4 separate regions of the Homo sapiens genome follow, and regions 1, 2 and 3 are each linked to region 4. The links are contacts of gene promoters, found by promoter capture Hi-C in blood cells and fetal thymus (Javierre and others, 2016). All regions are on one chromosome and are shown on one strand. The core of a region is centred on a gene start or on the middle of the fragment in contact, and the rest is flanking DNA. Distances in the headings are between cores, read along the strand shown.

What was found. Contacts are between HindIII fragments. The CHiCAGO score rates a contact against its expected background, and 5 or more counts as called.
Region 1: a contact is called between a fragment that was not itself captured here and the fragment with the promoter of LINC03068 in region 4, in 15 of 17 cell types (naive CD4 T cells, total B cells, M0 macrophages and 12 more). The highest score is 13.8, in naive CD4 T cells.
Region 2: a fragment that was not itself captured here is called in contact with the fragment with the promoter of LINC03068 in region 4 in 1 of 17 cell types (M0 macrophages); the score reaches 6.0 in M0 macrophages.
Region 3: a contact is called between a fragment that was not itself captured here and the fragment with the promoter of LINC03068 in region 4, in 7 of 17 cell types (naive CD4 T cells, activated CD4 T cells, naive CD8 T cells and 4 more). The highest score is 8.8, in naive CD4 T cells.

What each region holds. Positions count from the first base shown.
Region 1 is chr10:132,625,537-132,632,772 of GRCh38, forward strand. The region is part of intron 2 of INPP5A (inositol polyphosphate-5-phosphatase A); the gene reads left to right. Among named protein-coding and RNA genes, the nearest start is that of INPP5A, 91 kb to the left of the region's middle. RefSeq lists an enhancer at 2,989-7,236. The HindIII fragment of the contact is 1,003 bases long and covers 2,229-3,231 here.
Region 2 is chr10:132,666,146-132,673,134 of GRCh38, forward strand. The region is part of intron 4 of INPP5A (inositol polyphosphate-5-phosphatase A); the gene reads left to right. Among named protein-coding and RNA genes, the nearest start is that of NKX6-2, 120 kb to the right of the region's middle. RefSeq lists an enhancer at 1-814. The HindIII fragment of the contact is 927 bases long and covers 2,587-3,513 here.
Region 3 is chr10:132,199,504-132,206,657 of GRCh38, forward strand. It overlaps DPYSL4 (dihydropyrimidinase like 4), which reads left to right. Exons shown (of 14, transcript NM_006426.3): 9 at 853-1,009; 10 at 1,339-1,480; 11 at 2,443-2,613; 12 at 3,143-3,322; 13 at 4,259-4,424; 14 at 5,336-6,256. The coding sequence ends at 5,427. Among named protein-coding and RNA genes, the nearest start is that of DPYSL4, 16 kb to the left of the region's middle. The HindIII fragment of the contact is 4,048 bases long and covers 1,993-6,040 here.
Region 4 is chr10:132,440,117-132,446,481 of GRCh38, forward strand. LINC03068 (long intergenic non-protein coding RNA 3068) reads right to left here and starts at 4,866. Exons shown (of 3, transcript NR_184030.1): 1 at 4,656-4,866; 2 at 2,145-2,227. It overlaps LINC02870 (long intergenic non-protein coding RNA 2870), which reads left to right and starts at 5,073. Exons shown (of 3, transcript NR_149317.1): 1 at 5,073-5,162; 2 at 5,580-5,663. RefSeq lists silencers at 3,613-3,662, 3,763-3,812. The HindIII fragment of the contact is 13,459 bases long and covers 1,596-6,365 here.

The DNA.
Region 1 (7,236 bases), core at 1,480-3,979, 180 kb after region 4:
GAGCCCCTTGAGGCACAGGGGTCTCAGACTGGCCGGCAGCTGGCTGAGGGGCACTGAAGGGCAGGCCCGGGGACATGGGAGCCTCTGCTGCAGGGGCAAGGGGTGACCCCTGGCCAGTCCTGAGGCTTCCTGACCAAGGTCGGGCCCTGTGACTCTCAGTTCCTTTCTTTGGCTGAGGTCAGGGGCGTGCCTTGGCCCTGGGCATTGCACGGAGCAGGGGGTTCTGGAGGGGGAGGTGCCATCCTGCCTGGCCCAACTTCCCACTCACCTGAGGCTGCTTCTCTGCAAGGGCTGGCAGGACTTCTGTGTGTGTGTGTGTGTGTGTGTGTGTGTGTGTGTGTTTGTGTGTGTGTGTGTACAGTGTTTGTAAACTTGAGGTAGTTTATACACAGTAAAATATATTGATCTTTGGTGCATGTTTCTTCGATTTTGACAAATGCGCACACCTGTATAGTGCCCGCCCCAACATAATGGGGAATTTCCATCTTCCTCTTCCCTGCTGCCCCGCCCCTCGGGTACCACAGATCCGTTTTTCCCATTCCAGAACGTCACACGCTGAGACCCAGGGAACGTGGCGGCACCCGCCTGCTTTCCCTGTGCTAGTGTGTTGAGCCAGTTCCGTGTTGTCACACACTGTGGCTCAGTGCTGTCATCACGAGCACTGGTCCTGGATCCTGCTGTGTGGGGCCCACTCTGCGCTCCCCACTCTCCCCTTGGTGACACCTGGGCTATATCCAGGTTCGCCTGGTTAAACAAAGCTGCCGTGCATGTGGACACGCAGGCTTCCCGGGACACACGCCTTCATTCTGCCTGGGTCCATTCCTCAGGGAGACTGTTGGCTGTAGGGTGGGTGTGTGTTGAAGGCTTCAAGGAGCTGCCCAGGTGAGGTGCCTGGTCACGCCTGCAGCCAGTAGGTGGGAGTCCTGGTCACTCCATGTGTCTCTCACAGTTGGTGCTGTCCTTTGCCTTTCGGCTCCCTGACACCGCTAAGTGCCTCGTAGCAATATACAGTTGTGGGAGCTGGCGTGTTCAAGATCGCAGACTGTGCAATTCTTTCTCTCTGTTCTGAAGTGAGATTTTGTGGGTGTGCACAAGAGCCCTCTGTCAGTATCCACAAGGTGGATTCTGGTGTTCGTTTTAGCCAGCACTTAGATTCTTTACAGACAGATTGTCAAGGCTTGCTGTGGAATGCACACGTTAGCAGTCTGCTGTGCCCTGTGGACAGCCCGAGCTCACAGCAGTGCAGGGGTTCCTGTGGCGACTGTGGGAGGCCCCTTGTTGGCTCCGTGTGAGGCCCTCCCAGCTCATGCCCCACTGCCCTCGAAGGGTCGTGTGTTCTGCTAGAGTCTGTTTGGCTGTAGTTTGGTCCTGTGCTTGGCACTGGGGCGGGGTGGGTGTCATAGACCAAATTGTGTCCCCCCAAGTTCATAGGTTGTGCTCTGACCCCAGTGTAATGGTATTGAGGGGGGTGGGCCCTTTGGGAGGTGATGGGGTGAGATGAGGTTATGCGGTGGGCCCCCCGGATGGGATGGGTGCCCTTACAAGAAGGGACACGGGATCAGGCTCTCTCCACAGGGCGCAGAGGCAGCTCTGTGAGCCAGGAAGGACCCTCACCAGGAACCAAACCGGCCGGCTTCTTGGCCTCAGACTGACAGCTCCAGAACTGGGAGAAATACGTGTCTCGTTTAGGCTCTCTGGTCTGTGGCATTTTGTGATGGAGCCTCTGCCGACCGAGGGAGGGGCTGAGGGTGGACAGGCTGGGAATACCTCACCTTGGGTGCTCCCAGGAGGCTTCACGGGGAGACCGGGGCCGGGAGCTGCTGCTGGCTCCACACCTGTCCTGAGAGGGTCTGTCCTGGCCGCTGAGCAGGTGGGTCTGGAGGGCGGTGGGGCTGGCGGTGCTGGGCGCGGCTCCCAAGATGCGTGCAGCTGTCCGCGGTGGCTGCCTCGTCCAGCAGCGTCCCTGCCAGAAGTGGGTGCTTTGAGGGCCAGTGCCTGGTCTGTCCCGACTCCCTCTGTGTCCCCAGCTGCCAGCAACGTGCAGCGGATGACAAGTGAAATGAACGAGGGAGTGAGAGCCGAAAAAGACACCTTCCAGGAATCGTGGTGAAAGCAGCGAGCACAGTGTGGTCCGGGGCTGGGGGTGTGAGATGGCTGGGATTATAGTGAGAGGCGAGACAGGGGATGCAGACGGGTAGATGCCACAGGGCCTCCTCTTCCCCGTGAAAAGCTTCAGACTTTCTTCATCCTCAGGGTAACGGCAGCCACGGACAGATTTGTGAGGACCTTTGGTTGGAGTATTGGAAACCGGGAGGGGTGAGGCCGTGGAGAGAGCCGTGTGGGGGAGGTGCCCAGGCTGGAGTGGCGGCGTCGGGTGTGGAGAGAAACTGGAGATAAGGGACGCGAATCTGACTCGGTGACTTTGTTGTTGATGTTGATGTCTTCACTGGTTGCCATTGCCCAGGAGGGTGTTTACAGCACAGCGCTCTGATCAGCAGCTGCGGATCTACTCTTGGTGAAGAGCAACCATTAGATTAGGCTCAAGTGTGGAAATTAACCGCAAACCAGATTCTAAAAGCAGACCTCCTGCCAGTGGTCTGGTCTCCTTTGGAAGACAGTGTGATCCTTGTCTGCCTGACGCAGCTCAGGCCCATTCCTACCAGCTCAGTAAGGGCCGGCATGGCTGAGAGCCCATCGTGGACCCTGGGAGGAGACTGATGGGAGGCTCCCCTTTCTGGGCTGTGTAACCTCACCGTGCCCCGCTTCCTCGTGAGCATGCACCCATGGCTGGCAATGACTGTGAGGAGTGACAGAGTGAATTCCACCGGGCCGGCAGCACCATTCAGGAAGCACTAACTGCTGTGAGGGCCTGGAGCCCTGTGCCCTATGGTGGCCGCCCCCTCTCCCTCCAGATGTGCTCTGGTGGCGGGGGGGGGGGGGGGCGTGGCGTGGGGGACACGTAGAAGGAAACATGGCTGTTTATTTCCTTTCCGGATGGGGAAGGCTTTTCTAAACTCCACATAGTTGAAGGAATTTGTAGAGGCAAAGACTGATGGATTCGAGTAAATAAAACTGGCAGGACTTTTCTTAGGCTCTTAGAGTTTAAATGTGATTAAAAGGCAGACTGGGAATATATTTTTAAAAACAACAATAGGCTGGTTTAACAATTTTTATAAAGAACTCTTATAAATGAAAGAGAACATGTAAAATTCCAATAGAAAGATGGTCAAAAGCTTCTCTTAGAATCTAGCCCAGCCCCATCCAATAGAAATGGTGTGTAAAGTGCATATGTCATTTCAAAGTTTGAAGAGTCACATTTTAAAAAGCAAAAAGAAATAGGTGAAATTATTTTAATAATATATTTTATTTCACCCAGTGTATCTAGAATGTTATCATTTCAACATATAATCAGTATACAGTTATTAATGAGACATGTTATCTGTTTTTGTGTGGCCTTCAGAACCGGGTGTGTTTGACCCTGAGCCGTGGCCGCACAGATGGCAGGAGCGAGGGGAGGTGGCTGCCAGGTAGTGCCCCTTCCTTGCTTACAGCTGAAGCAGCACCTGGCATTCCCATTCTTGGCCTCTGGGTGCCGAGGGTGGGTCCATTTGGCTGCCTGACGTGTGTCCCCAGCACTGCAGATGGGTGGTTCCTCTTTAAGCTACCTGGTGTTATACAGCAGTGGCCTCAAACTTGCTCTTGCCCTCTGACCCCAGCCCTCCCCTCCTAAGAGCTCCAGAAACACAGACTCCACGTGAGGGAACCCCAGCTCTGTTGTAGGGCAGTGCGCTGCCCGCCTGCTCAACTTCAGGTGACGAATGGCCCCATCCTCTCGAGCCAGGGCCCTGCAGCTGTTCAGTGTCTTCATGAACTTTCAGTGACTCAGGAAAGTGGCTGAAGATAAAAATCTCATCGTACATCTTTGAAGGGAGTTGTGTTACATTTGCATGCATAGCGGAAGATTGGCTGTGGGGCGACGGGAGACCTGAACAGAAGGTTCTTCTGTGTCCCCTCTTTTTCTGGAAGTCTCCAGTGTGGCTCCAGGGTTGGTGCTAGTGGCTGTGGAATGAGTGTTCACTTGCTGCTGCGTGGTTTGGCCCTTCCCTCTGCATTGTGCGGACAGCCCTGTGCTGCGGCAGTTCTCCACATGCATTCCACACGTGAGCATCCATGAGGGGTGGGTATCCACAAGGGAATGGCATCCACGATGGCCAGGTGGCCTCCGGGGAAGCTGTCCTCCAGGGAAGGCATCCATGAGGGAGGGTCCATGAGTGGAGGGTATCCATGAGGGAGGGGTGTCCACAAGGGCAGGGTGTCCTCCAGGGGAAGCTGCCCTCCAGGGAAAGACAATCATAAGGGGAAAGTGTCCATAAGGGGAAGGCATCCAAGAAGGGTGGGCGTCCTTGAGGGGAGAGTGTTCTTGAGGGCAAAGCGTTCTTGAGGGAACGTCATCCTCGAGGGAAAAGCATCCTCCAGGGGAAGGTGGCATCCATGAGGGAAAGGTGTTCATGGAGGAGGGCGTCCTCGAGGATAGGGTACCCTCTAGGGAAAGACATCCTTCAGAAAGGCATCTATGAGGGGATGATGTCCTCCAGGAAAAGGCGTCTATGAGGGAAAGCCATCCATGAAGAAAAGGCGTCCATGAGGGTAAGGTGTCCATGAGGGGAAGGCGTCCATGAGGGAAAGCTGTCCATGAGGGGAAGACGTCCATGAGGGGAAGGCGTCCATGAGGGGAAGGCATCCTTGAGGGGAAGGCATCCTCCAGGGATATGTGTCTGTGAGGGGAGGGTGTCCTCTAGGGAAAGGCCTCCATGAGGGAAAGACGTCCTTGAGGGGAGGTGTCCTTGAGGAAAAGATGTCTATGAGGAGATGGTGTCCATAAGGGAAAGGTGCCCATGAGGGGAGGGTGTCCTTGAGGGGAAGGCAAGCTCTAGGGAAAGGCATACATGAAGAGAGGCCATCCTTGAGGAAAAGGCATCCATGAGGGAAAGGCTTTCATGAGGGAAAGATGTCCATGAGGGGAAGACATCCATGAGAGGAAGACGTCCATGAGGGGAAGACGTCCATGAGGGGAAGACATCCATGAGGGGAAGACATCCATGAGGGGAAGACATCCATGAGGGGAAGACATCCATGAGGGGAAGGCATCAGTGAAGTGAAAGTGTCCATGAGGGTGGGGGGCGGGTGGGGCCTCGGTCGCACCTGCCATGACCCTGGACTTAACCTTGCCCTGCCCTGTGCGGTGGTGGGGGCCGGGAGGCGGCGGGGGCGGCGGGGGACGTGCTTCTTAAACTAGAGCTGATTTGTGGGAGCTTCGATGGCCCAAGCCCGGACTTTGTTCGGGTTAGAGCCCTGCGTTTCCACCTCTGCCCGTGGCGTCTCCGGCAGCAGCTTCTGGCTCCATCTGCAGATTTGCTTAAGTCACTTGCCCTATCTCTGGGGGGAAGGCTGCTGCATGTGGTCAGTGTGGTAGAACCCACAGTCTCCCCAAAAAACCTCTAGGCTGTGCTTGGGTGGGGCCTGCTGGGTCCCACACCCCTCCCCATGGTGGCCCAGCCCCACGCAGGGCCAAGGAAAGGCAGCTCCAGATCACACAGGCTGGCCAGGCTGCCTGCGGTGAGGTCATGGAAACTCATGGTGTCCTGTGTGCAGGGCGGAGAGAAGAACAGGCCCCTGCCCACACAGCTGCTCCGTGTGCCCTGGCCGGTCCCATCGGCTGCGCCTTGAGGAGGCTGTCTGACCAGGGGCCTGTGGGAACCTGGGTCTGGTTGGTCACAAACAGGCCTCTTTCTGGGGTCCCAGCACCCGTTGCAGCCCAGCCCAGCCCCGAAGGGACCTGGAGAGGAGAGCCCCCACCCAGGGCAAGGGTGGGCAGCGGGGATTTTAAACAGGGTGTTTTCCAGGCGTCGTTGGCAAGTAACTGTGGCCTTTTTCTATCAAGAAATTCCCGTGTCCCTCTGCGCGCCTTATCTTGGCATGGGGCTTCCACTGGGGTGCTGTGCAGGATGTAATTCCTTTTTAGGTCACTCCGATACTCCTCTTTGGAGAACGCCTGACAGGGCCTGGCTGTTGCTATTTTTAACACCGAGTCTTGGCCGTGCCGATGGACGTGGCCTGGGCAGGCCTGTGCTGCCTGTTTCCTGGGAACCAGGGGCCCTTCGTGCTGGGCCCCGCTCCGCGGCAGAAGCAGGGTGCTGCTTGTTTGGCTGGTGAACGTGCTTTTTCTTGCCATGCCTTTCCAAGATATTTTTCCTGGGCCTTCCTATGAAGCATCCAGTTCAAGGACACTATAATAAAACAACCCATGTGGTTTTATTGACTGCCCTTTTTTCCTTTAAGGTAGGAGCACCTGCTTTTTCACTGTAGAATTTTGGTGAAGAAAATGCACAGCTTTGGGCCGTGACTTCCCCGATAGTTCCAAGGTCACGCATGCCAGTGTCATTGTCACTCAGGGCGTGAAGTGCTGAGCAGAAGCTCAGACTCGTGGGTGGAGATGTGCACCCCCATGGGGGTTGTGTCTCTTCACAGCCCTGCCTGGTAACCTGGGGACACTCGGTCACATCTGTGCTTTGCAGCAGTGTGTTTCCAGCCAGGCCTGACCCAAGCGTGCTGTCCGACACTGTGGCGTGGCCTTTCCTGTCCATCCTCTGCGGTCCAGCAATATGTTTTGTTGAAGGGATCTTTGTCCAGGATCGTGCAGGCTGCAGAGGCTCCCAGGCCAGCCCTGGGGAGCTGCTTGGCTTTCTGCAGCTGCCTAGAGCTCTGTGTGTGTCCCTGTCCTCCCGGATGCCAGGGCGCCTGTGTCCCCTGTGGCTGTATCTCTCTGGCACGGGCCAACGCCTGTGGTGTGAGTAGCTGTGTCTGGCTGGTGTCACCTCACTCTGTCCAGCCTGTGCTGAGCCTGGATGCCAGCATTGTTGACACCTCACAGCGACCGTCTCAGGAAGGCATGTGCCGAAGTGGATCCTCTGAGAGGCAGGAACCAGGCCCCAGAATTCCCGCCAGGAAGGGGTCCAGCAGGAGCCCGTGCCCGGTGTGCTTCCTGGAAAGCCCACACTTCCACCCACCACCACTGCACCCCGCCCAGATTGTCATGGGCACTGACTGAATTGATCAGGAACTTGGGAGCCAGGTGTGAAATGCAGCCATTATTAAAAATCAAATTATATAAACCTGTAATAAAGTAAATATATTAAAACCAAAGGCAATAAATGCCCCACACTCATCCCTTCCTAA
Region 2 (6,989 bases), core at 1,800-4,299, 220 kb after region 4:
CTCAGCGCTTCCTCCCATGTCGTGACTGTTATAATGCATCATTACTTCCTCACTATGATTCATCTAGGAACTTGGGGGAGTAATTCATAGTCAGGGATATTTATGTTTAAACCGACAGAAAGGGAGAGCCATTTGAACACATTATTCCATGTTTTCACTGGTTTTAAATCTGATTTCTGCTGGCTGGGGGAAACTTGAGGAACTGTGAAGTCATCGTAGGCAGTAGGGAGGTAACGGATAAGGGCCTTTCAAGCATGCAGTGAAGAGACACCAGCTGTACAGCTCCCTCCTGTATGGAAAAGGTGGAATTTAGACAGTTAAAGTATTAAAGTATACATCACTGGGTTTGAAAACAGCCACAAAAAAACCCCTGTCGGATCACCCAAAACCGCTGGCCCCGTGGCGCACCATCCCGAGGCTGCCGACTTTGCAGTGGGGCTCTCTTTCCTTCTGGAGTGCAGCAGCATCTGGAATTGTCTGGGAAAACCCTGAAGGATGGCCCACACCGAGCCGAAACATCTTTCAAACGGAAATTGTTACACTGTGCTCTTCATCTTGAAATTAATGTTTGGTTGTCAATTTTTATTGCTGACCTAATGGATGAAGTCCAGCAATTGCAGCTGTCCCCTTAAAGCGGCCCCCAGCGTGTGCTGTGCAGACCTTCTCGGCAGGCTACCCACCCACCTCATCCGTAAGTGGACTCGGGTAGAGAAAGATATCTGTGCATTGAGAGCTCGTTGGAGATAACTTGAGTCATAATGTGTACTGAGTGTGCTGGGAATCATAGGAGGGTAAAGGTGGTTTTTAAAAAAGTTATTTTCATTAATTCCTCTCACCCCCAACCCCCTCTGCCACCTGGGACAAAAAAATGGCAGGGTCCTGCTGGATGCCGCTTTCCAAGCTGGGGCAGACCCGCCAGTGTTGAGCAAGAGGGAGGTTTCATCTGAGGCTGGCTGAGTTTTATATATCTATTTATGAGATCCAATAATGTAATGATGTGCTTGTCTAATAAATGCTGCTGTACAAGCTCAGGACAGCAGACGTTTCCAGTATGACCTGGATTGTCTAAGCCGCAGCCCCTTTTGGTTGGAGCTCGGCTGTTTAATAAATGTCGGCTGTTCTTCCAACCATCATAATTATTTAAAGGGGCTTCAAAAGAGAGAGAACAAATCAAATCAAGCCATTACTGTTGAAGCTCGTTCTGGAGTTAAGTGTGTTTTTAAAACTGTGGGCCTTGTGCAGAGGCTCCTCCCAGTTTTCATCTATTATCACAATAATTGAGTTTGTAGCTGGAATTAAATTTATCAAATTGCGTTATCCTCTTTAGAAATTGGATAGGCATGCTGGCAGGGCGAGGCAGAAGTTAATCTGCTTTGCTGAAGCCTCCAGTGGCCCTGCACAGCGGGGCTGAAGAGGCCCAGACAGCTTCCTGTCACCCCGGACACGATGTAATTTCTCCTCAATCCCTTGTGCAAATAATGACATTTGAATCGAGCATTAACAGGCTTAATTACTTTAAAATTGTCATTTTAATTTACACTGATATAGTATTGATCATACAAGCAGAGATTAAGCTGTTCAGTGGAGCAGATGATGGGGAATTAAACATTAAAGGGTCCTCAGGGGGCCGTGTGCGCTGCCCGGCGCGAGCCGGAAGAGGGATGATATTTCTCGGTAATGAACTGGCGGCATGCGGGGACATGAATCTTGGGCTCTTGGAAAAGGGGAAATAATGGGGTTTGGGAGGCATTTGCAGGTTATTCATTCGCCGCCATGCACCAATTCTCCAGTGATTCATCCGCCTCACCAACATTTATTTATCCAGCAAATTCCGGAGCTTTGACCTTTTTGCTAAGTACATTGAACATAAGTTGGAGTGGAGATCTTTCAAGTGTAACTTTTACAAGTATTTGTTATTTTTCCTTATTTCTAGGCAACATTAAACAAAGTTATTCAGTTTTTTGAGTGTACTGGAGTCTGCCGGCCTTGCAGGGTTGGTGTGGTGGTGAGGGACTAATGGGCTCCTGCAGCCCAGCCCCACACTTGACTTTTGAAAATTCCAGTGGCAGATCCCAGGCTCAGGTGTCACTGATCCTTTCTTAGGTGAAATGACACGAGAGCCTCACGTTCCTGCCATGGGCTGATGGCCTCGGCCTCCTTTCAGTTGAGGCTTTCTGTTGGTGGTTAGGGGGCAAAGTGACGCCCTGTAACTTATTGATGCTGCCATGGAAAAAATATGGAAATGAAGCAGAACATGAGTTTCTCAGAAGCACATTTGACGGACTTCTTTTGGCGAAAATCAGAGCACTTCAAATCCTGTAACCTCAAACTGTTTCACTTTTCAGAGGTTATATAATAAAAAGTTAAGTGATTGATTTTATAGTTCAGTAGGGAGTGATGAAATTCTTGATCACTATCCATAATGGCTTTATTTTAAACAGTGGGCTAGAGATTTAATTAAAGCATGATCAGGGAAATGAAAAAATGTTGATATTTCTCCTCAAATTAAACATGAATTTGCACAGGGAGCATTAGAAGGGCTTATCATTCCTCCTGATGTTTTTATTCTCTTCCGTAGGATTTAAAAGCTTGCGGCCCACTTCACCCCTCTCTGAATAGCTCAGGGGGCTTCAGCCCCTGTTGACCGTGCTCTGGGTTTGGTCCATTTCTGTGGCTTTCTTTAAAAACTGCCGAGCTCCATCGCACGACCACCACTGCTGGCGTTTATTGAGCGTGTACTGCTTGTGAGGCTTTGTTCTGGGGGATCATTTCCCCACTTTATCTTTGGGGTGCCGGAGACACAGGAAGGTTAAGAAACAGCCGGTGAGGCCGGGCATGGTGGCTCACTCCTGTAATCCCAGCATTTTGGGAGGCCGAGGTGGGTGGGTCACGAGGTCAGGAGATAGAGACCATTCTGCCAACATGGTGAAACCCCGTCTCTACTAAAAATACAAAAAATTAGCCAGGCGTGGTGGTGGGCGCCTGTAGTCCCAGCTACTCGGGAGGCTGAGGCAGGAGAATGGCGTGAACCCAGGAGGCGGAGCTTGCAGTGAGCAGACATCGTGCCACCGCACTCCAGCCTTGGAGACAGAGTGAGACTCCATCTCAAAATAAACAAACAAACAGCCGGTGAGTAGCACCAGCTTGTGTGAAGCTGGGAAGTAGCCCCGTGAGCGCCAGGTGTTGCCGGGCCAGGCCTTCCCTGTGAGGCGGGTTCCCTGGTGCCCACTGTGGCCTACTCTGAGGGGCACAATGCAGGCTCCTATTCTTAACCTCAAGGCTTTCTATGTAGCACGTCCTCACGGGACCACAGAACGAGAGGGAGCTGGGGGTGTGGTGGAGGAGTGGCAAGTGACAGGGCAGAAACAGCTGCTCGAGGAGGCCCCGTGTTCTCCTGGGGGACCGTCGGTGACATTTCAGCCTGGCTTAGCTGCGTCCTTGAAAGTGGTTCTGCTTCTCTTACGTGCTTGCAGACACCATTCATGTGTCCTTAGTCTGACAGTGACTTGGTCAAGCTTGGAGGATGTGGGGCCTGCCTGTGCGTGCCCCATGGGCAGAGAGGGCGGGCGCGGTTCGTGCTGGACTCTAGATGTGCAGCTCCAAGTGAGATGTGGGTAGATGCCATTGGGATTTTGGCGTGAGCGTGGACCTGGGTTTCTGGAAGGGCATTGTTCCCGTGTCCCTGTCCCCACTGTGGCCTTGCTGAGCCCCCAGGGAGCCAGGACCCGCTGGTGACTGCTCCCTCTCTGTCCTCAGGGTGCAGCCCTGCACAGCCCTTCTAGCCCTCTCAGGTCTTTCTTTTGTCCAAACTCTTATCTTCTCTTGGGTCCCCAGGGTCACCAACCTCTTTGCAGAAAATCCCTCTGCAGCCACTGACCCCACACCCCCAGCCCCCATGCCCTCACTGCACACGTTCTCAGCCCCCATGTCCTCAGCTTCCAATCCCTAAACCCCACGTCCTGAAACCCACACCCTCAGCCTCCACCCCCAAGACCCTACACCCTCTGACTGCGCACTCCCAGAACCTGCACCTGACCCCACACCCCCTGACCCCACCCCCCCGACCCCACACCCCCTGACCCTACACCCCCTGACCCCACACCCCCTGACCCCACACCCCTGACCCCACATCCTCTGCATACTCCCAGAACCCACACCTGACCCCACACCCCAGACCCTACATCCTCTGTGCACTCCCAGAACCTGCACCTGACCCCACCCCCCCGACCTCACACCCCCTGACCCTACATCCTCTGAGTGCGCACTCCCAGAACCCGCACCTGACCCCCACACCCCCTGACACCACCCCACAGCCCCCATCTTCAGCCTCTCCTCTGCTGTAGTCCCCAGCCCCTGGCTGGCTTGCTTCTCAGCACAGCCCTGGCCCAGAAGCAGGAGGACACTGTCAGCCCCTCCTTGCTGGGGGGAGAGTGGTTGGGGCACACCTGTCCCCTGCCCCTCTGCTGCCCACAGCACAGCTAAGTCTTCACCCTGCCTGCGCGCATCCCTGTGGCCTTCTGGGAGGTCCCAGTGGGGAGCCTGTCTTCTCCCCAGAACACCCAGTCTCCCTTTGTGCCGGGTCACCCCTGTGAGCAAACAGGCAGGCATTTCCCTCTTAGGGAAGAAGCCTCCCTTGACCCCGTATCTCCCCAGCTCCTTGTCCTATAGAAACTGATTTCTTGGCAGTGTCTTTCTTTCTTTTTTTTTTTTTTTTTTTTTTAAGGAAAATGATGGATATTCATGTGGTCAGGACAGCGGTGCCAAAGTGGAGAAACTGCAAACGGCGGTGACGGCTTGACGGGCGTCACTTTTCCTTGGTCTTTGTCAGTCAGGTCTAATTTATAACAGGGCCATTAGTGGGAGATAGCTTTCTTTGGATGTCTTTTCCCGTAAGGGTTGCTCATGGTTTGGCCTCAGTAAAGAAAAGAGAAGGTCTCTCTTTCATATTGTTGGAAGCAGCAGGTGGCCCACTCCTTCTGGAGTGAGGCATGGGCATGTGGGCACGCCTCCATCTGTCAGGAGTGTCCCTGTCTCTCCCTTCTGATTGGGACAGTGGGTCACACTGGTGGCCAGTGGGCAACTGGGGCCCCTGGAGCCGTGGCCTCCCCTGGGCCCAAGGGAGGCACAGATGACTTAGGAGTGGAGAGTTCAAACGTGGGCTGCGGCGAGGCTTGTGCCCTCCCTGCTTCGGACTCCGCCCTCCCTGCTTCGGACTCCGCCCTCCCTGCTTCGGACTCCGCCCTCCCTGCTCTGGACTCCGCCCTCCCTGCTTCGGACTCCGCCCTCCCTGCTTCGGACTCGGCCCTCCCTGCTCTGGACTCCGCCCTCCCTGCTTCTGACTCCACCCTTTCTGCTTCGGTATCTACCTCCTTGCTTTGGAAGGACACAACCTTCTTGGCTGGCACAGCCCTTCCTGCCATGCCTGTTGATCCCATCATCAGCCAAGGATGTGTTGGGGCCGTATTCTGCGGCTCCTCCAGCATGGGAAGGTGCTGACAGGAAGCAGCACCAACACCTCCTGGAATAGCCGTTGGCACATGAGCTTCCTGATACTGTTTCATGTGCCTTACATGTGCCACCCATGCAGGGATCAGAGCAGCCCTATGAAGTGGGTACTGTTATTTGTCTTCCCCGTGTCACAGATAGAGATGTTGAGGCACAGAGAGGTTCAGGGACCAACCAGAAGAGGCCAATGTGGGATTTGAACTTGGTTCTGGCCTCAGAGCCTGTACTCTCAACCAGCCTGCTCTGCTCTCAGAAGGGGACAGCGCAGGAAAGGCCAGCTTCAGCCAGGGTGACGGTGGGGGTGGTGCTCAGGGTGGACAGCATTGATTAGAGGTGACTGTTGTCCAATATTCAGCTAAACTGTAGGTTTTAAAGCTTGAGGACAGGTTTCGTTAGAGGTCAAAATTCAGTAGTTCCTTTCCCAAGGATGTAGGGAGAGAACTACGTTTTGTTAAGTGGCTCTTATTGAGCATTGTGACATTCTTTTGCTAAAAACATGTTTGTGCATGTATACACTTGTACTAAGAAAATATCTTCATTTTATTTCCTTTTCCTTTATCATGTGACATAAGATTTATTCACTTCATATCAGCATTTAAGTATTGTCAACTTTATGAAATAATATTTGGGTTGGCGATTGGTTTTGAAATGTGAGGACAGGAGATCTGGGAGGGGTCGGGATGGAATAATATGGTTTGGCTGCGTCCCCACCCAAATCTCATCTTGAATTCCCACATGTTATGGGAGGGACCCTGCGGGAGGCAAGGGGATCATGGGGGCAGGTCTTTCCCATGGTGTTCTCATGGTGGTGGGTGGGTCTCATGAGATCTGATGGTTTTACAAAGAGGAGTTTCCCTGCACAAGCTCTTTCTTTGCCTGCTTCCATCCATATAAGATGTGACTTGCTCCTCCTTGCCTTCTGCCATGATTGTGAGGCCTTACCAGCCATGTGGAACTGTAAGTCCATATTAAACCTCTTTCTTTTGTAAATTCCTCAGTCTCGGGTATGTATTTATCAGCAGTGTGAAAACAAACTAATACAAGGTCTTTCCTAAGTTTGGAAAAACGTGATTTCTCATCTCTTCAAAAACGACTTCCACTCCCCCTCTGCATTCCCTCTAGGTTCCAGTTACATGTGCGTTGGACCCCACGCCTTCCACGCCCCACCCCACTCCCCTGGTATTGATGACTGCCTTCTTCTACTGTCCATTCTGTATTCCCTTTGCCTTCAGCATCACCTCAGCGGGTCGTGGTTTTTTTCCTGGTGGAATGTCCCAAACCTTCATTCCTGAGGGGTCTGGGTCACTTGTAGTCTTGCCTGGATTGGGCTGTTGTAGTTTCCCGTTGACCTTAATCACAAGGCATGGTAATACTATGGGACGCCCTAATGGATCTCCTGTATTCCATGTATACTCTTCCTTAGCTTCGTTGCAGAGTAGTAGACTGATTTCACCTTGATAGACCAGATCAATCACCCCAACAGT
Region 3 (7,154 bases), core at 2,767-5,266, 240 kb before region 4:
ACTGGGGCTGGAGAGGGCCAAGGATCCAGGCACAGAACCCAGGTGACGGGTAAATGAGGGGGCATCCCCTAGGCGGCCTCTGGATCTGGTCTGGTTTCCCCTCCTCCTGCTGTCCGCACTGAGTCCTGAGAGACCTCGTTTTCTGGGCCTGCCTGGGGCTGTGCAGGTCCCTGGGCAGGGTGGGGGGCGGGGTGGTGGTGGTGGTGGGTGGTGCCCTTCTATGTGTTTCCTGCATCGAGGGTTGAAACTGAAACCCACTCAGTTAACTGGGAAAAGGACTCTGAGGCGTGCAGGTGAATGGGGGTCTGCAGGGGTGAGGCCCGGGCCTCACTCAGGACACCAAGCAGCCTCGGGGCAGCAGGCCAGGCCCTTCTCAGGGGTACCCCACCCGCCAGGCTCTTCTCGGGGGGTGCCCCACCCCACCTGGGAGCATTTCTCCCCCACCCACTGGTGGGAGCTGCCTCAGCTGTGAGCTGGAACCCTGGTGAGGCCATGGCCAGGGCACCCCCGGCCAGTCAGCCGCCATGCAGTTCACTGTGCCTCGCAGCCCACAGGCACGCCCTGGCCCCGCTGGAGTGCCCGGGGTCCTGGGGTGGGGTGTGGGCAGAGAGAGGACTTGGCGTCCGCAGGCCAGACTCCCTTTCCCAGAAGGACCCCCAGGGCCAACCACGTCTGCCCGCGACCCAGGCCTCTGCCCCACTTCCTGCCCAGGGCCAGGGACTCTAGACTGGGCACAAGCTGTCCCAGGCAAGGAAAGTGAGGGGCAGTCGTGGGTGTCAGCAGCAGCAGTTCTCGGGGCCCCAGGGGGTGCAGGTGGTCGGTGGGGCACCTCTCATGGGCCTCGTGCTGCAGGGGTGGTCGTGTTTGGGGAGCCCATCACCGCCAGCCTGGGCACCGACGGTTCACACTACTGGAGCAAGAACTGGGCCAAGGCCGCAGCCTTCGTCACATCACCCCCTGTCAACCCAGACCCCACCACGGCGGACCACCTCACCTGCTTGCTGTCCAGGTAAGCAGCCTCTCCAGGTGGCCCCAGGTTGGCCGCCCGCTGCACACCCTGCCAAGGCTGTGGCCCCGACACCCCAGGCCTCTCCCACGGCTCCCATAGGGCAGCCCGGACAGTGGCGGGTGGGGAAGTCTGAGCCCTTTGGTCCCAGCGGGGGCTCCCCTGGCAGGAACCAGTCCCCGCTCCCCTGCACAGAGGCACCAGCTCTGCCCAGCGAGAGCCACTCAGATGACCTCTAGCCCCTGCGGCTGTGCTGGCCAAGGGGGCTGGAGCTGACCTGGCCTCTGCCGGCTCAGGAAGGCCAGGACCCTCTGACCCTGGCTTGTTTCCAGCGGGGACCTCCAGGTGACAGGCAGCGCCCACTGCACCTTCACCACTGCCCAGAAGGCTGTGGGCAAGGACAACTTCGCGCTGATCCCCGAGGGCACCAACGGCATTGAGGAGCGCATGTCGATGGTCTGGGAGAAATGTGTGGTGAGCACAGGCCTGGCCGGGGCACGCCGTCTGGGGAGCGGCTGTGGGCGGGATTGTGATGGCTGGTCAGAAGGGAGCCCATCTAACCAGTGCACACTCGTGAAACAGATCAGAGCACACGGGCTCCGGGGTGGCGGATTCCCCACCCAGGGCGCCTCAGACACGTGGTTCTGGCCCCTCCAGATGAGACTCCAACAGCAACAGGGGCAGCTGGTAGCCCCCCACCCCTCAGCAGACTCTAGTGTTGCCCGGACACTGTGTTTGCCCAGGGGTCAGCATGGGGTCTCCACGCTGTGATGTTAGTGCTCCCCCGCGATGCCCTCACGACCCGTCGCACACCGCCCTGTCCTGCGCCCTCCCGCATCCTCAGCCCCACCTCCCCGGGCAACTGAGCTCTTCCCCTCAGCTGCTCCTGCCTTCCCAGCCTCCAGGGCTCCCCAAGGAGACTGTCACGTCCTTCAGGGGACACAGGTGTTGCCACTGAAGCTCCACTCTCGCTGAACCTTCGTGGAAGCTTTACCCACAAAGTGAATGCAGAAAGGCTTCGCCCAGGAAGGGGCAGACCAGCAGGCATCACTGAGATGGGCTCCCTGACTCACCAGTGCAGCGTTCTTACCCCAGGGGTTACTCAGGCGTTCTTACCCTGAGTGTTGCCATGGCGAGGGCCGTGGCTGGAGCCCTGTCCTGATCTTGGCTGCCTGGGTGGCACTCTAGTGCCCGTCTTCACGGGGGCCTGGTATCCGTCTTTGTGGGGTCCCAGCGGTCCAGCATCTGACCTGGCAGGGGCCCCGTGTCCTGCCGTCCAACCTTGTGGGGGGCCTGGTGGTCCAGCGTCTGTCCTCACGGGGGCCTGGTGACCTGGCATCCATCCTTGTGGGGTCCTGGTGGCCCAGTGTCTGTCCTCGCGCAAGCCTCACCCCAACCCCACCCGTCGCCCTCAGCTCAGCCTTCTTGTTCCCCAGGCCTCTGGGAAGATGGACGAGAATGAGTTCGTCGCGGTGACCAGTACAAATGCTGCCAAAATCTTCAATTTTTACCCAAGGAAGGGGCGAGTGGCTGTGGGCTCTGACGCTGACCTGGTCATATGGAACCCCAAGGCCACCAAGATCATCTCTGCCAAGACCCACAATCTGGTAAGAGAAGGCGGCTGTAAGTCAGGGTTGGCCTTTGTGGGGCCGGGACCCCAGGGCAGCCTTCCCAGGAGAGGCGCAGGACAGAGGCCCACGTGGCAGCAGCAGTGGCCTCAGCCATCCCAGGGCCGTCCACACAGCCTGTCCCAGGCCAGACACTGAAATGGGCCCTGTCCACGTCACCTCGCTGCGTGGCCGCTGCATCTGTGGTCCCCTTGTGCCATGGAGGAGGCTGGGGCAGAGCGGTGCCGTGTGCACCTGCCTAGCCAAGGGAGAAGTGACCCTCCCTGCCTGCCCACGCCTGTCCCCTTTGTCCTCGAGAGAAACGGGACTCAGAAACGAGGTCCGTAGGCCGAGGGGGGGCATTCCTCCCGAGTTCCAACCCCTCAGTTCCAGCATCTTGCTAGGGGCTCAGTGTAGGCACACCGGGCCTGCTCCACGCTGGGCGGCCACAGTGCTCCAGCGGCTCAACGGGGATGGGACTGTTGGGCCCCAGCGTGGAGGCACTGGACCCTCGGGCCTCTCTCCCCAGAACGTGGAGTACAACATCTTCGAGGGAGTGGAGTGCCGGGGAGCGCCTGCCGTGGTCATAAGTCAGGGCCGAGTGGCGCTGGAGGACGGGAAGATGTTTGTCACCCCGGGGGCGGGCCGCTTCGTCCCTCGGAAAACATTCCCGGACTTTGTCTACAAGAGGATCAAAGCTCGCAACAGGGTAGGGCGGCACCCGCAAGGGTGTTGTGCAGGTAGGCAGGTGGGCGCTGAGTTCTAGGCCCAGAACGCACCCCTGGTCAACCTGGCCCGGCCTCCCGAGGGGTCAGGAAGACAGAGCGGGGCCGCTGCTTGCCCAGGGCCCTGGTGGGTCTAAGTGGAGAAGAGCCTGCTCCCGGAAGATGGCAGGGGAGGCCCCCATGGCACTGGGACCTTCAGGCCCTGGATCAGCTCTGCAAGTGCCTGTGAACGGCAGCTGGGTCCCACCCAAGTCATCCACGGTTGTTAGAGAAAATACAGATATAAAGTGAGCAGAAATCTAGCTCCCCACGGGAGCTGCCCAGTTGGACCTCAGTGTGGGTCCTTCTGGGATTCCCCATGGACAGACGTGCACGCTGATTTGTGGACTGGGGCGTGTGCTCCTCTCCACATGGGCTCTCAGGAGCTCAGCCACGGGAGCCCCCCCCCCATGGCCTTCCAGTCTCTTACTGTGGTGACGCCACGCTTGCCCGGCATCATCCGTGTCTGACGGTGCAGCAGGTGTGGTCTCCCCAGACCACCAGGTGCTTCACACACGCACAGGGGCACTCGCAGTGGCGTCTGTGCACACACAAGTGCACGTGGGGCCTCGGAGGGAGGTTGAGCATGTGCACCTGTGTTGGTAAGACTGAGGGGAGGGACGTTTGCACACACATGCAGATGGGACCGCAGGCGGGCATTATACACGTATGGGGAGGACTGCAAGGAGGGAGGCGTGTGTGAACTTGGGTTGAGCACCCCCCCAGGGCAGCCCCAAATTCCTGAAGCTGGCACTGGAGAGGCGCAGAGCAGGCCCAGCCCTCCAGCTGCCCATGCTCAGCCCCTCATGCCCCATCTCTGGCCCCACAGCTGCCCAGGCTCAGCCCCTCATGCCCTGTCTCTGCCCCCACCCCCCCGGCAGCTGGCGGAGATCCACGGTGTGCCCCGTGGACTGTATGACGGGCCCGTCCACGAGGTGATGGTGCCTGCCAAGCCAGGGAGTGGCGCTCCGGCCCGCGCGTCCTGCCCAGGCAAGATCTCCGTCCCTCCTGTGCGCAACCTACATCAGTCGGGGTTCAGCCTATCTGGTGAGTTGGGCCTGGGGCACCAGTGGGGGTGAGGGGCTCTGCCGGAGCATCCAGGGCCTCAGGTACCAGGGCCCAGCCTGTGCCCAGAGGGGCTGCACACGGAAGGCACCCAGCTGGGGACTGGGGCAGGAGATGCTGCTGGGGGTGTTGTGGGGGCCAAGGGCTGAGCCCAGTTAGGGAGGCCCCTCCTGCCCGCTGTCTGCCCAGGGCAGCTGTGATGAACCCTCACCTTCAAGACAGTGGCACTGGGGTGAGGCTGTCACATGGAACCCAGGAGTGAGCATGGATCCAGCCTCAGGGGAGGTGGGAGGCCTTGACGAGGATCTCAGGATCATGTGGAATCCAGGTCCCCACCCAGCAGGCCCCAGAACCAAGCGTGAGGCACAAGGGAGGGTCTGAGCTGTGTCCCGGGGCCTGGAGGGATACACGAGAATGCCTGGGAGGGCTCAGGCTGCCAGGGTCCGGCCTCTGGCGTCGCTTCTGGTGCATTCTCCGGACCCAGGAAGGTGATAGCAAAGCCCTGCTCACCTCCTGGGGACTCAGGCCTGGGGGCAGGTCCCTGAGAACCCGGCACTGTCTGGGAGGCCAGGGGCAGCCTTTCATCACCCGGAACCCAGAGCAGGGACGAGGCAGGACTGGCCCGGGTTCCTCTCGGGACAGGAAGGGCTTCCTGCAGCCCACAGTCCCCGCAGGTTTCATGATCTCCTGGGCAGCCTCACCTGCACCCCGGGCCTCAGGGATGGGAGTCCTGCCGGGCACCTGGTCTGCTTGGCCTTCTGGTGGTGGCAGGTGTGCGGGGGCTCTGCAGTCCTGGCCCCACTGACGCAGCCACTGACTCTGCCTCACGCCTTGAATAGAAGGGCCCCTGCCCCTGCCTCATTCTCCCCTGCCCATCTGTGCCCTTTCTTCAGGGTCTCAGGCTGATGACCACATCGCCCGACGCACAGCACAGAAGATCATGGCACCACCTGGCGGCCGCTCCAACATCACCTCTCTCTCCTAGACGCCCAGGACCGGCCCTGTGAGCCGTGCTGGCCCCACCCGAGGCCGCGGGGGCCCCAGGGCACTCGCCCCCCTCCTTAGCATTTTCTTTTGTAGAAGTTTCTCGAAGGTGCTTGGCGGTCTTGCCTTCCCCCTCCCCACAGGCTCTCCTTGTGGGGTCCCAGGTCCTGCTGCCAAGAGCCCCTCAAGAGAAGGGCTGAACCTGGGGAGATGTCACTGCCAGGGTGAGGTGGAGCCACATGGCAGGGACAATGCCGGCAGCCTGAGCCCAGGCACCCCAGTGCCCGCTGGGCCCAGCCTGGGGACAGGGAACCTGCCGGGCTCACAGTGTGGGAGCAGCTGGACACCAGGCTTCTTGGTGAACCGGCGAGGGGCCGAGTCCCGCCTGGTGGGCATTTGCCGCCGCCTCCCCACCACCAGTCACTGCCTCGCAGAGCCCTACACTCCCGCAGCCGCTCCTCAGAGGCCTGTGCCCATCGCAGGCCTGGGAGGAAAGTGGGCGCAGAGCCCTCCTGCTCACACAGCTGCTGAGACTTCAGGGACCCATCAGAACTTGGTGCAGCACAGCCCCGCCCGTGGAGGGTCCCTTTTACGCACCCCAAGGCCCACACCTAAGCTTCCATGTAGCCCTCATCCAGGGAAGTTTTGCGATCCTTTAGGAAGACACTGTCCTCTTATTACAGATTGTGTATTTCCGTAGGCTTCTTAGTAGCAGCTTTGTACACTGAGGACACTGTAGCCAGGAACCTGTGCATGCCACCCACCGCCTGGACAGGCAGTCATCCTGCCTCTGATGTGAATCAGGCCCATTAAAGACGTCTGGGTTTGAAGCCGCCTGTGCATGGAAGGAAGGCCCCGTCTCCTCTCCCCCACGCCGTCTCTGCACAGGCGGGGCCTGGCTGGCTGTGGGCTGGTCCGACGACTCCTGCAGCCGCAGCTCTTCTCCCCTCAATGGCAGGGAGGAGCGCACCCTCTCACAGGGAAGAGGGCCGGCAGGGCAGCCAACATCCAGGGCGGGGCAGAGGGCAGCCAACATCCAGGGCGGGACAGAGGCCCCCCCCCCCCCCCGCCTACATTCTCACCGGACAGCCCGAGCCACCCCAGAAGGCCGGGGAGCATGCACGGGAGTGTGTGGAAGTGAAGCACACACCACCGCCACCCAGGTGGGCGCTGCTCACAGACGCAGGCCCAGCACTCAAGGCCGGGCAGCTATGAGGCTGACCCGAGCCCCCGGTGTGTGACTGCGGTGCTGGCGCGTGCTGTGTCTCAAAGGGTGCGTGGACGTTCCCAGACGGTTGTCCTCATCCCAAGAGCGGGGCCTGGTCGCAGTCACTGGGCACTCGCTGTTTGTTGAGCAGAGAGCCAGGGACACCTTGTGCCACCGGTTCTCTGGCCCCTGCCCATGCACCGATGGTGACAGAGAATTTCCTGCCGTGGTCTCTGGGAACCACAGACAGGCCCATCTCTCACCCTGGGCTGCTTATAAAGCTGTGCAGATCCCAGGCGAAGGCCCTGGGCCCTCAGCATTTCCTTCCCGGGGCTCCCTCTGGCCCAGATGTGGGAGCTGATGTCCCCCACACCAGCATCTCCCACTCTGCCCCAGTGTGGGGGGCGATCAAGGGAACCAGACAGCACCCACACCTCACCAGTGTCTCGAAGGAGGACAAGGTGCACCACCCTGCCATGTTCCCCAAATGCACTTATTCAAACCCCCACACCTGTCCTTGC
Region 4 (6,365 bases), core at 3,616-6,115:
ATGTGTGCCTGCATGAGGGGGCCTTTCCCCCACCCCACCACAGGCTGGCACTCCCAAAACAGCTGGAGTGCTGCCCTCATCTCCCACTACCCTCACCCCCAGCACACAGGATCTGGGCCCACTGTCTCCCCCCCAGCACACGGGATCTGGACCCACTGTCTCCCCTGCCCAGCACACGGGATCTGGGCCCACTGTCTCCCCCCAGCACACGGGATCTGGACCCACTGTCTTCCCAGCACACGGGATCTGGGCCCACTGTCTCCCCTGCCCAGCACATGGGATCTGGACCCACTGTCTTCCCAGCACACGGGATCTGGGCCCACTGTCTCCCCTGCCCAGCACATGGGATCTGGACCCACTGTCTTCCCAGCACACGGGATCTGGGCCCACTGTCTCCCCCCCAGCACACAGGATCTGGGCCCACTGTCTCCCCCCCAGCACACGGGATCTGGGCCCACTGTCTCCCCCCCAGCACACGGGATCTGGGCCCACTGTCTCCCCCCAGCACATGGGATCTGGACCCACTGTCTTCCCAGCACACGGGATCTGGGCCCACTGTCTCCCCCCAGCACACGGGATCTGGACCCACTGTCTCCCCTGCCCAGCACACGGGATCTGGGCCCACTGTCTACCCCCCCAGCACACAGGATCTGGGCCCACTGTCTCCCCAGCACACAGGATCTGGGCCCACTCTCTCCCCAGCACACAGGATCTGGGCCCACTGTCTCCTCAGCAGCGTCCCTGAGCCCCACTGTCCATGGCCCCAGCCACCACTGTGGTGCAGACTCTGGCTCTCAGGACCCCCCCACGCCCTGCCATCTCCACTCCATGGGTTCCCTCACACTAGGCTGAGTGATGCCCAGCACCAGGCATCTCTTGCAGGGCCCGGGACCCCATTCCTCGAAGACGGCTCAGGGCCGAGGGTGGTTGCGTGGCAGGCACTAGGCCTCTCAAATTGGCCTGCAGAATGCTGCCTGCGGTGGGACAGGGCCTACTCCGCCAGCCGACAGCATGTGTACCCTCGAGGCCAGCAGAAGAGAAAGGGAGGTTTCATGTTCTAATTTTCATTTTCGTCAGAATATACTCATAGAGTGAGAACTCAAGCAGCACAGGAAAGGCTGGGGCAGGACTTCCTGAGCCCCCACGGCCACTCTTCAACCCAGGAGCCTCTCCCTGAGCCCGGTTTCTGGTCCTAGAGCCTTAAGCCTGGCAAGACACTCGCCCCGCCGCTCCTGCCCCATGCCTTTGGGGGTGTCGGGATGCCCCACTTTAAGCCGGGCTGAGCTCATCTCCACCCGACCTCCCCGCACTCACGTCAGTGGCCTTTTCAGTCCTGCCGTCCTGGTGGGGTGCAGTGGCCCAGGGTCCTGGCTACCTAATGAGCTCCCCAGGCAAACGTTGGAGCAGAAGGGATCACAAGTGGCACAGCCAAAGGAACGGATTCCAGAAACGTGAGCTGGTGGTTGAAAACACTCACGTGAGCAATTGAAAAGGCCGTGAAACCATTACCAAACATTGAGAGCAGAAATGGAATTTAAAGCGAAGGTGGGTAAAACCCCGAATTCTCCTGATCCCAGATTTCTTTTTCTTTTTTAAGCTTATTTGCTTATTACAAAATGAATCCACTCTTTTTACAGAACAATTACAAAATATTGACAGCCAAGCATGGTATCCTAAACCAGCCCATCCCTCACACATTCAGGGGCAGCTCCTGTTAACCCGGGGTTCCCTCCTCAGGGCTGTTAGCAGGTGCGTATGCATGTGAGTGTGGGTGTGCGTGTGTGCATATGAGTGTGCATGTGCGTATGTGCACGTGTGACTTGCGTGAGTGTGCATGTGCGTGTGCGTGTGTGCACGCATGTGTGTGTGAATGTAGGAGCGCATGTGTGCATGTATGTATGAGTGCATTGCATGTGTGCACGTGTGTGTGCATGTGTGTACGTATATGTGTATGAGTGTGTGTGTGCACGTGTGTGTGCATGTGCGTGTGTGCGCATGCATGTGAGTTTAGGAGTGCATGTGTGCATGTATGTGTATAAGTGGGCATGTGAGTGTATGAGTGTGCATGTGTGTACATGTGTGTGTTTACGCATGTGTATGCATGTGTGCGTGTGTATTCTTAACCCAAGGGAGGCACTGCTTACCACTGGATCATAACCAGATGTTTAACCAGTCTTCAGAGGGAGGACATTTAGGTTCTTTCCAAATGCAGCACAGAGCAGGGGCGCTGGGGAAGGGGAAAGGAAAAAGAGCTCAGCGCAGGGAACTCGTGATCTTGTAGAGACAAACGGAAACATTCACACACCAAGGGACAGCAGCAGAATGGAGGGGCTGAAATGGGGGGGCCGGAATGGGGGGGGCAGATGGGGGATTGGAATGGGGGGGCCAGAATGGAGGGGCCAGAATGGGGGGCCTGGAATGCGGGGGCCGGAATGGGGGGACCGGAATGGGGGGGCTGGAATGGGGTGCCGGAATGGGGGGGCCGGAATGGGCGGGGGGCCAGGACGGGGCGGCCGGCATGAGGTACTAGACTCTTCCTTAAGTGGGGTGGGACACATCCACAATAAAATGTTTAAAAAGAAGGAAAAGGACCAGGGCACTTCAGAAAAAATGAAGGAAGCCACATGGGAGACGTCACAAGGCATTGCCCACCCCTTGCCCACCCCGTGGGCTCCCAGCCAGCAGGCAGGGCAGGGTGCACACTTCCTCCTGCCTCCCCGAGGTCCCCGGGGCTGACCACAGGTTCACATGGGCAGCGAGGTGGTCGCAGGAGGACGGGGCCTGGAGATCCAGCCCCAGATGACACTGCAGGCCCCGGCAGGGGACGGTGCCACCCTCACCTCTGCCTTCTTGCCTCTGCTCTGCCTGGCCCATGGCTCTGTAGGCCTCCGTCCTCTAAGGACTCAAATTTTTTAATATAAAAATAAGTTGCAGGCCGGGTGTGGTGGCTCACACCTGTAATCCCAGCACTTTGGGAGGCCGAGGTGGGCAGATTACCTGAGGTCAGGAGTTCAAGACCAGACTGGCCAATATGGTGAAACCCTATCTCTACTAAAAACACAAAAATTAGCTGGACATGGTGGGGGACGCCTTTAGTCCCAGCTACTTGGGAGGCTGAGGTAGGAGAATTCCTTGAGCCCAGGAGACGGAGGTTGCAGTGAGCTGAGATCGTGCCACTGCACTCCAGCCTGGGCAACAGAGTGAGACTCTGTCTCAAATAAAATAAAATAAGGCCAGGTGCGGTGGCTCACGCCTGTAATCCCAGCACCTTGGGAGGCCAAGGCAGGTGGATCACGAGGTCAAGAGACTGAGACCATCCTGGCTAACACGGTGAAACCCCATCTCTACTAAAAATACAAAAAATTAGCCAGGCGTGGTGGCGGGCGCCTGTAGTCCCAGCTACTCGGGAGGCTGAGGCAGGAGAATGGCGTGAACCCGGGAGGCGGAGCTTGCAGTGAGCCGAGATCACGCCACTGCACTCCAGCCTGGGCGACAGAGCGAGACTCCGTCTCCAAAATAAATAAATAAATAAAATAAAATAAAATAAAAAGTTGCAGTGTCAGCAATGAGTTAGCTCTTTAATGGGGGCTTTTTTAAATGAATATTTCTCAGCTGTTGGTGAGCTCAGCTGAGGGAGGGCGGGCGCCACGGGTCCCTGACTCAGACCTGACTGTGGGGCTGGGACACGACTGCCCCTAGTGGGAGCAAGGCCCAACGGTTGGGGGGTGCCCAGCGCCCAGCCAGCAGCTGGGGTGTCTGTGGGGGCTCCCCCATCGCCCTCCCCTCCCCCTTCCCTTCCTTCCCTCTCCTCTCAACCCCCACTCCCCTCACACCTTCCCCTCCCCCTCACTCCTCTCCCCTCTCCTCAGGGCTCCCTGGCTTCCTGCCTCACCCTTCCCCTCCCCCCACTCCCCTTCCTCAGGGCTCCCTCCCCTCACTCCCTCCCCACTCACTCCCTCTCCCCTTCCTCAGGGCTCCCCGCCTCACTCCCTCCCTGCTCACTCCCCTCCCCTTCCTCAGGGCTCCCCACCCCCCCACTCCTCCTCCCCTCTCCTCAGGGCTCCCCCCCTCACTCCCACTCACTCTCCTCCCCTCTCCTCAGGGCTCCCTCCCTCCTCACTCCCTCCCCGCTCACTCCCCTCCCCTTCCTCAGGGCTCCCTCCCCCCTCACTCCCTCCCCCGCTCGCTCACTCCCTCTCGCCTCTCCTCAGGGCTCCCCGGCTTCCTGCCTCTCTGAATTCCTCCTCCAGACCCTCAAGGCTCCCTGCTCATTCCCTCTGGGGTCCTGAGGTCTCCAAGGGCCACTCTGGCTTCCCCCCTGCAGACCCACCCTCCTAGGGGAACAGGGTGACCCCACACAGACACTGATGGGACAAGAGAACCAGCCCTGCAGAAAGCCTCCAGGTGAGGCTGACAGTGCTGGTCCTGTGACGGGGAAGCAGGTGAGAGCCATCTCTGGCCTCAAGGCTGATCAGCAGCCCCCAAGGTGTCCTCTGCAGAGAGGGCCAGCCTCAGGCCTGCCACCCCGTAGACCACAGGGACCTGTCCTGAGATTCCTCCATTTCTGAGCACCAGCCTAGGAAATGATGGAGGGTCTGGCCCCCAGGCCCAGACCCCCAGGCCCCCTGCCCCCGTCTAGGTCCCCAGGTACTTGCAGAAAAGAAGGGGTGAGCACAGCCTTCTGTAAGGGGGCGCCCGAGTCCTGGCCAAGGTGGCCGCCCACCCTGGGGCTCCAAGGTCCAGGCAGCCACCTCTTCGGTCTCTGCCCTTAATGTGGGGCAGAGTGGCAGGTCAGAGCCCCGGCCCTGGCCCCGGCCCCAGCCCCAGCTCCTCCTCAGCCACAGGGGCATCTCCAATTCCTGAAATAATTCAGTTCCCTCTCCTGGGCACCTCTAGAGCCCAGCTGGGCCCAGGGTGTGTTCTGCAGTTGTGGGGGTGGGGGGGAGGATTTTGCAACCCTACCCTCTCTGCAGGGTACCTCCGGTGGCTCTGGCCTCTGGGCCCCATGCTGTGCCAGACACACAGAGAGGCTCAGCCAGTTATTTCCAAGAGGCCAGGCAGGCAGGAGAGGCCCAGGATCTGCCAGGACTGGGAAGGGAGGCAGGAGGCTTCTCTGGGTATAAAGCAGCTGAAATGTGGAGTTTCCTCCCAGGAGCTGAGAGGTAGCTGCAGGGCGAGCCCTGGGGGAAGTGTGCAGCCGCTGGAGCTCCGTCCTGGGCAGGGGTGGTCACGGCTTGAGGATGGCAAGGGCTGATGCCTTGTTTGCTTTTAAAATTGTTGCTATTTGCTGTAGTTCCCCTGTTATTCCTAAACTCTCAGGAAGCACCTACTGGCCTCAAGGTAGTCTCGCTTATGGGGCTGGGGATGAAGAAGAGTGGGGTGTGCAGGTGGGCAGAGCTCCAGCGGCAGGAGGCTGAGGGCGGGCTGGGGAGTAGCAGCAGGGGATGGGCACGAGGCCCCTTCGGTCCTCCTGCAGCTGTTTTAATGTGGCGTTTTGGAAAGAGCCGCACCCCGTGGGTGCCTATGGGAAGGAGGCGTCTTAGTCACATGCCCCTAACGATTGCGGCGTTTCTCTACAGCGTGTCCATGGGCCCAGTGCCTGGCGTGTCCTCCCTGGGAGCTTGCTGGACGCATGACCAGGATTCTGGGAGGGCAGAGGACAGGTGGGTCCTGGTGGTAGGTCAGCTGCTGAGTTTCCCTATGACGTTTGTTCCGCTGGTGCCCAGAGCCCCTTCAAGGTGTCCATCATCAGGGGAGAAGTGGCGCCACAAACTGCCTTTTAACCCTGGGGTCCTGCCAAGAGGTCTGGGGTGTCCTGGGGCCTGTGGCCTGGGCTGCAAGTGCAGCCAGTTCCCTCAGGGCATGGCCACCAGCCCTGGGCTCCCGTGCCCGGGTTTCCCTGCCTGCCTGGCTGGTCAGAGGAGGGAGTCCCTCTATCCACTCTGCCCCACATTAAGGGGAGAGACTGAAGAGGTGGCTGCCTGGACTGTGGAGCCCCAGGGTGGGCGGCCACCTTGGCCAGGACTCGGGCGCCCCCTTACAGAAGGCTGTGCTCACCCCTTCTTTTCTGCAAGTACCTGGGGACCTAGACGGGGGCAGGGGATGCCCAAAAGGGCCTAGACACCTTCCATGGCAGCCGCCATCACAGGGTCTGTGGGAGGGCGTGTCCTCCCTTCCGCAGGCCTGGTGGGCAGCGAGGCCGTGCAGCTGCGACCCACCCTCACATCCGGGCCGGGAGCGGACTGAGGCCCAAGGCTGAGCCTCCACTCTGGACCTGGGACGTCTGGGCAGAGGAGCCCCGTGGTGGGGCCAGGGCGAGGGCATAGGGGCCTCAGGGTGGGCCCTGGGTACCCTTGACCTGCAGA